Regions from separate parts of the Homo sapiens genome. Here region 2 is linked to region 1. Evidence: promoter capture Hi-C in 16 types of primary human blood cells and fetal thymus (Javierre and others, 2016). All regions are on one chromosome and are shown on one strand. The core of a region is centred on a gene start or on the middle of the fragment in contact, and the rest is flanking DNA. Distances in the headings are between cores, read along the strand shown. Region 1 holds the start of ANKRD55 (ankyrin repeat domain 55). Region 2 overlaps GPBP1 (GC-rich promoter binding protein 1).

Region 1 (3,783 bases), core at 655-3,154:
TGAAGCTGGGAGTTTGACTTGCGCTGTAATTCAGGAGTTCAATTTGCATTGTAATTCAGGCAGCTGCAGCATGAGAGCCTGCATTTGATTGCAGCATCCTCAGCCTCATGGCTACAGGAGGTAAGACTCTCCTTCAGGGTACACATACACACCTCCAGGTCATCTATATGGCACCTGAGCTGGGAATTAGAATCCGTGAGCTAATCCTTTTCTTTCATCACTTTGTCCAGTGACATTAGGAGCAACCAGCCATATTCATTAAGTTTCCAAAAATGTTTGAGGGTATCATCTACACAGTCACCCAACTCCTTGCCTGTTGTGTCCAGTGATTAATTAGGAATATTCAGTGCAGCTTTTTGCATATCTCTATTACCACTTCACACCATGGACTATCAATGCTCTCTTTACTCCTAGAAATAAAGCTATTAGAATCCTTAAATTTAATCAGATTTGAGAGCCAATTCCAGAAACCCTAGAACCAATCCTCAAGTACATGGTTTCTTGTTTAGACTAGAAAATTTCAAGGACTACAGAAGTTCTTGTCAGAAAGTTCTTACCCCATGAAGGATGGTTAATTGGGTTCCAATGTTACAATGTCAGTGAGCAGGTTGTCAGCTTGAGCAAGGAAAGTTCTTCAGTGAAGTTTCACTCATGCACTGAAATGTACTGAGCACCTCCTTTGTGCCCCTCTCTGTGCTAGGCTGTAAGGACATGGAGTGGACAAAGCAGACAAAGAAAGAGTAGACAAAGACCCTGCCCTTATGAAATGTACCCTCTTGTGGAGAAATATTTTAATTTGGGTTTCCGTAAAAGCAGACCCTGAGACAATGATTCCAATGCAAGTAACTTATTGAGAAGTGCAGGAAATATCAGTAGGAACGTGGGAAAGTAATACAGGGAGGGAACAGCAGCCCATAAAAAGAACGTTATTAGACCTATTCTCACAGGTGGCAGTGGAGTTTAACCCTGAAGGAGTTTAATCCTGAAAGGGAAATGGCAAACGGAGTAAAACACCATGCCTCAGAATCATCCTATCCAAGGGCAAAGGAAGCTGGTGTTTATTATTAGATTCAACAAGCATCTACTATATGGCTATTTGACTTATCCAAAAATCTGGTTGTGCCTAGAATATAGAACTTTGTTTGAATTTAGTATATCATATTTTTATTACAAATACAAGATAATAGATACTGGTTATTAACAAGCCAAAAATACAGAGATTGATACAGAACAAGTTAGAAATCTCCTACTCTAATCACAGTGGCCTGAGGGAACCAATATTAGCAGTTTAGTACGTATCTTTCTACATCTTTTTCAGTGTTCGTCTGAATATATAAAAATAATGTATACAGTGAGTGGTTTCCGGTTTTATTAAAACACGAACAAATGAAATATATAACTTGTTTATTTCATTTAACAATAGATTAGTGACATGTCACCAGATAAATACACAGATTTATTTATGTCAGATTTTTAAATCTAGAGTACGAATTTACTACCATTTACTTAGCTGCTCCCTGAATGAGGTACATTCGGGTGATTTTTCAGGTTTTACTACATGTAATGCTACAATAAACACCCTTGTGACAGCAGACTGTTTTAATTTTATCACCACAGACACTCGAGCCTTGAAATGTCACCTTTCAAATGACGCCTTTCCCCATCCTCCCTGTCAATTGGAGAACGGAGCTGAAAGGGGAGTGAAGAAGACTGCCAACATGGATAATTACTCCACACAGCACATGGCCAGCAGCCTCCTGCTACAATATTTACATCCTATTCCATTGAGATGGCACTCTCTGCTCACATGACCCAAATGCAGTTCTCACTCCGCCAAAAGCACAGCCGAATGCGAACTGCATTGGCAGCTTTGCACATGCTCTGTCTGGCCCTGTGAATCCTCACTCACCCATTCAGATTTCTGTTGGTGTAAAGCGACATTCCAGCTGCTGAAGCTCCGTGATCTGCTGTGTTTTTCCAGCCCAGATCCAAGGCAGGTGGCCCATACAATTTTACTATCTTTTTGGAGTTTGAGTAATTGTGTTTATTGATTTGGGGGTGGAGGGTGTATTATGCCCATGTACAGCTGATGAATGAGGCCATAGAGTAACTCTTTTCCTAGCAGGTATTTACAGGAATAGCATTTACCTATTTTCATCACCTTGCCTTGACAACAACCTGCAGCTCTGATGCACATTTAATCCTGAAACAGAGGTCTTGGCAAACGATGCTGCCTCTGACTGTCATGTTGACAGTAAGGTTTGAGATGGTGTTTTCTCCTCTCTAGAGACCTGGATGCTTTTTGCCATTCTGATGGTAAATGATGAGACAGGCTACCATGGATTTCAGCACCCCTTCTGTGTTTGATCAGCAAAGAGGTAAAATGCTGCTTTAACACATTCTTTGGTTGTTAGCATCCTTAGTCTCATGGTATGGATTTACAGTTGTAAGGAGAGAAAGAGAAGTGTGTGTGTGTGTGTGTGTGTGTTCATGTGCGTGGGTGTGCATGAGTATTTGCTATGTAGGATGTGGAAAGAGGATTTCACCTAGAAAACAAACCTGTTCAAAATGTTCACTTCTAGTTTGATAAGCATCTGAAACAGAAAAATAAGCTTATGATCTGTTGTATAAGCTTATGATCTTGTTGAAGTATTCCTACCTTCAAATTTTAAAAACTGGATTTCAAGCACACCAACTATTTCAGATAGTGTCATCTTTATTCTGTTTTTTCCAAATCTTTTTTAAAAATTAGGGTAAGCAATGTAAGAACACATCACATTTTTTTTGTCATTCGATTAGCCCAGTATCTCATTGCTGTATCTTCGTAAGCATTTTTTTATTCCTTTCAGGAATAGATGTTGCCTGTATTTATGTCGGGTTGATATGTTATCTCATCCAAGGTTGTGTAATGACATATCCCTATGCTATTATTTGCAATGCCAGGGTATATCTTCCTTACTTATAATTTCTGGAGTGGAGGTAATTTTCCACATCAAAATGTTGCTGTGAGATCAACTTATCCTTATAATATCACATATTTGGCCATGTGGTCTATGTGTATACATTTTGCATATGCAATGTGTTTATATACATCTTCGTGTAATACTTATGTGTAATAGTAAATCTTTTTTTAGTATAAACATGAAATTTCCATTTTATAAACATAATAAATATTTTTTAGAATCTTTTCTTAAATATCTATTATTTAAACCACTTTCTACAGTCTCTGAATATTCTTCAAGATCCTAAGTTCCTTTGGTGATTTTATCTGTTTTGGCTACAACATGAAATGGTGGTTTGAAAAAGCCTCATTAAGAAAATGTACTGCTTCATTCTTTTTTCCCTTTTCCTGCTCTAGGCCATAGCATGTTTATTACCCCTCAAGCTACATCTGGCTTTGTGGGTGAATTATTTTAGCCCAGGGGGTTTCTCCAAAAATAAATTTATATTTAGATTCCTGAGTTAGCTAATGTATATATGTGTATAGTGTGTTCTCCAGGTCTTAGCTCATTTGGAATAGTGTTTGTGTATGTGTATGTGTGTGTGTGTGTGTGTGTGTGTGTGTGTGTGTGTGTGTGTGCGCGCCTTCAGAACGTGCCGGCTCATACCGTGTTTGGATCTGAACAGCATAGAGAAAGGCGTTGTCACAGCTGTGCCCACCACCATCCTCTCCTCCTGGTACATTTTATATCACTGATGGCAGTCAGTAAAAGTGAAAATCTGCTAAGAACCAAAGAGCTCACACTGGCTGAAAAATGATGTTGCTAAGCCACGAAACATACA
Region 2 (3,783 bases), core at 508-3,007, 1.0 Mb before region 1:
ATTCTCAGTTGTGGGTTTGAAAGTGCTGTTCTTCCACGGTCCAAACTTGAAGTCACAGATCAAGCCATTTTTCAAAATACCATTTTTTCTCAGACCATTCTTCTGTAACTAAAATGTTAACAGCAAAATAAATAAATTATCCCTCAAGAGTTACAAACCTACTGTAATAATATAAGCATGAATATAATAAAATTGTATCCTAACCCAAAAACTACACAAGTAATGATATTTCTGAAAAAATTCTGGATCCAGACAAAGTAGATGTGAGTAATAATTGTCACACTGATTAAGGTACTAAACTTTCCCACATTTTTATTGCCTCAAGTGACAACTGTAATAAATACCTTCAGGGACTTACCAGAATATAATCAGAAACCATTAAGCTGTATCTGTTATTTTTATTATTCTGACCTAAATTAATACACCCCCCAATCTGCTTTGTTCATAGTTTGTAAAGTAGAATGAGGTATATAAAGTTACAAAATTGTCTCGTTTAACCGGAGATGAAGATACTAGAAAAAATACAGTTCTCTATTTCTGAAAATGAGAAATCATAACTAAAAGGTTGGTAATAAATAAGAATTGAGTCAAAACATCATCAAAGAAGAAAAAAGATAGTTGGCCCAAATTAGAAACAATTTAAAGACAGAAAATAAGCCCAGTGTAGTGGCACAAGCCAGTAGCCCCAGCTGCTCAGGAAGCTGAGGCAAGAGTATTGCTTGAGCCCAGAAATTTGGGGATGCAGTGAGCTATGACCAGCCACTGCACTCCAGCCTAGATGACAGAGTGAGACCCCAACTCTTTAAATAAACAAATAATCGATTTGAAAAAAAGCATCTCAACTTCCTGATGCTCTAACAAAAATTCCCTAATACTCTTTCAGAAAGGTAACTAGGGAGACATTAAGCAAGATGTTTTAGAATATGAAATACTCTTGTGCAAGAAAAGGATAAAAGATGAAGTTACTTAGGAAGCTACTAACACTCTCTACTTCTTATCACTCTTGCTCCTCCCCCAGAAAAGCCAAAAACAAAAACAAAAAACAAAACAAAAAAGGTCTGGAAAATGACTAATCCATAGACATCACTTACACTAATTCCTAACTATTGCACACCCAATAGTTTAAATAAGTCACTATTGCAGACTTCTATAAAGTCAATTCAACCAGGTGCAGTGGTTCCTGCCTGTAGTCCCAGTTACTCCAGAGGCTAAGGTTGGAGGATCACCTGGCACCCAGGAGTTCTAGAGGCCAGCTGGACACCATAGCAAAAGCCTGTCCTCCCTCTTTTTTTTTTTAAAAGCAATTCTGACCTATCGTGATAAATTCCTAAATCTCCCCCACTCCATGCTTACATATAATTATATTGTTCTAAATAAGGGCAGTTTAAAAGTGAAGTTGTATGATTCAGGTTTTCTTACCTGTTCACTAATAACTTGGAATTCTCTCATTTCATCCTCAGTTAAGGGAGCACATGTTTCATCATTTTCACTGTCTTCCTGCCAGCCCATTTCCTTTAACAATCTGAAAAGGAGAGGAAATTAAGTTTAATGTAAAGCTTACCCTGAGTAGGACAGTATCATTTACATTATGTATAAGAAAACATGATCCACCAGGATCCATTATACAAAGACCCCAAGACACATCAAAAGGATTTTTGAGCTCAGGCTTTGAGTATCTTTCTGAAAATGAATAAACAGGTAAGATTAATAAACTGATATTAAAATTAGAATGAACTCCTTGACTGCTTAATCCTTGGTGTCAAAGGCTCTTCAGGCTGGAAACTTTTAACAGATGTGAAGCAAATCTGCTAAATTCTTATACTAAAAGTAACAGCAATATCACTCCTCTTTTTCTTCAGTACCACCATATTTCTGACTACTCATTAGGTTTTCTACTTGGGCAGTCATGAACACTGCATCAATAGCTACTTCATTTGATCAGGAAACCTCCAAGCTTGTTTCTTATATGGCCACATATCTTGTATTGATATGAAAGGGTTTGTTTTTAAAAAATGAAACCCCTAAGTACTTCTGTTACTCCTACAAGGAGTCTTCAAAAAGTTCATAAAAAATGTGTATCATGGAAAAACTATGCAAGAATTTCAAGAAAAAAATTCTGCACCAAAATAAACTTGTGCTAACTTGTGATAACATGTTTCAACAGAATCTTGTTTAAGGCACCACAAAGGTAAGACATCAGTTTGCGAAAAGCCCCTATCAGATCAACATGAATTCTGCTAAAATCGAAGCAAGAACAAATACCAAATTTATGGTGAAACTTGGGTGGAAGAATAATGAAATCACTGATGCTTTACGAAAAGTTTATGGGGACAATACCCCAAGGAAACAAGAAATTTCAAATAGATAACTCATTTTAAGAAAAGATGAGGTGATTCTGAAGATGAAGCCCTCACAGAAGCAGCAGCAGATCATCCCCATCAATTGACAAGGAAAAAATTAATCTTGTTAGTGCCCTAACTGAAGAGGACTGACGATTAACAACAGAAATAGCCAATACCACAGACAAGACATCTCACTTGGTTCAGCTTACATGATTCTGAATGAAAAATTAAAGTTGAATAATTTCCACTCAATGTGTGCCCACATCATCTGCAGACAAAAATAGAGCTTTCAATGGAAAGTTTAAACAAGTGGGATCAAGATTCTGAAGCATTTCTTCAAAGAACTGCACATGGCTTTACCAGTATGATCCAGAAGACAAATCACAATCAAAGCACTAGCTACCAAGAAGTGGAAGGGATCCACTCAAAGCAAAAGAGGACCAGTCAAGAGCAAAGGTCATGGCAACAGTTGTTTGGAAGGGATAAAGAACAGTAACATCTGCTTATTATGAGAGTGTTTTGAGAAGGAAAGCTAAAGCTTTAGCAGAAAAATGCCTGGGAAAGCTTTAGCAGAAAAATGCCTGGGAAAGCTTCACCAGAGAGTCCTTAACCACAATACTCCTGCTCATTCCTCTCATCAAACAAGGGCACCTTTGCAAAGTTTCAATGGGAAATCATTAGGCATCCACCTTTCAGTCCTGATTTGGCTCCTTCTGACTTCATTTCCTAATCTTAAATTTTAGAGGGGGCCCATTTTTCTTCAGTTAATGTAAAAAAGACAGCACTGACACGGTTAAACTGCCAGGGCCCTCAGTTCTTCAGGGATGGTCTAAATGACTGCTATCATTGCTTACAAAAGGGTCTTGAACTTGATGGAGTTATGTTGAAAAACAGAGTTAATAGTTTTTATCATTTAATTACATTGTTCCACAAACGTTTAAGTCCCCTCTTATTTACACCTACTCATCTTTTAACTTGCACCTGCTACACAATAGCTGCTTATAGACTTTTAGACCTTTTTTCAGAGTCTCACAGAATATCTGAGACCTTGAATAAAACATAACATGATATCCACATTTTACACATGAACAATCAAGATCATATAAGTAAAATAACTTGCTTACTTGATGGCAAAGACAAATAGAATTTTGGTTTTCTGTCTCCCAAATTAGTATGTATTGCACAGCACCTTGTTGCTTCTGAACAAAAATGTCACAGTCAGCATTAATCATTTCTTCTTTCATTCCTTTTAGCCACGACTTCTTCCAATGCACTATCTTTACTCTTTAATCTGGATGGCCTCCTTTTGGAATAGCATTTCCATTCACTTTTACCATTCAATGACACCTAATACAGAGACTATTAAATCTAGACTAGCAAAACAATCTAACTGCTCTTTTGCTGGATCCAAACTTTTATCTGTTTTACTTTTAAAAACTGA

What was found. The method cuts DNA at HindIII sites, captures the fragments that hold promoters and counts their contacts. A CHiCAGO score of 5 or more calls a contact.
Region 2: a contact is called between a fragment that was not itself captured here and the fragment with the promoter of ANKRD55 in region 1, in 1 of 17 cell types (naive B cells). The highest score is 5.1, in naive B cells.

Annotation. Positions count from the first base shown.
Region 1 is chr5:56,231,451-56,235,233 of GRCh38, reverse strand. ANKRD55 (ankyrin repeat domain 55) reads left to right here and starts at 1,904. Exons shown (of 12, transcript NM_024669.3): 1 at 1,904-1,993; 2 at 2,288-2,378. The coding sequence starts at 2,321. The HindIII fragment of the contact is 3,640 bases long and covers 1-2,614 here.
Region 2 is chr5:57,258,919-57,262,701 of GRCh38, reverse strand. It overlaps GPBP1 (GC-rich promoter binding protein 1), which reads right to left. Exons shown (of 12, transcript NM_022913.4): 11 at 1,420-1,522; 12 at 1-108. Among named protein-coding and RNA genes, the nearest start is that of GPBP1, 87 kb to the right of the region's middle. The HindIII fragment of the contact is 398 bases long and covers 1,559-1,956 here.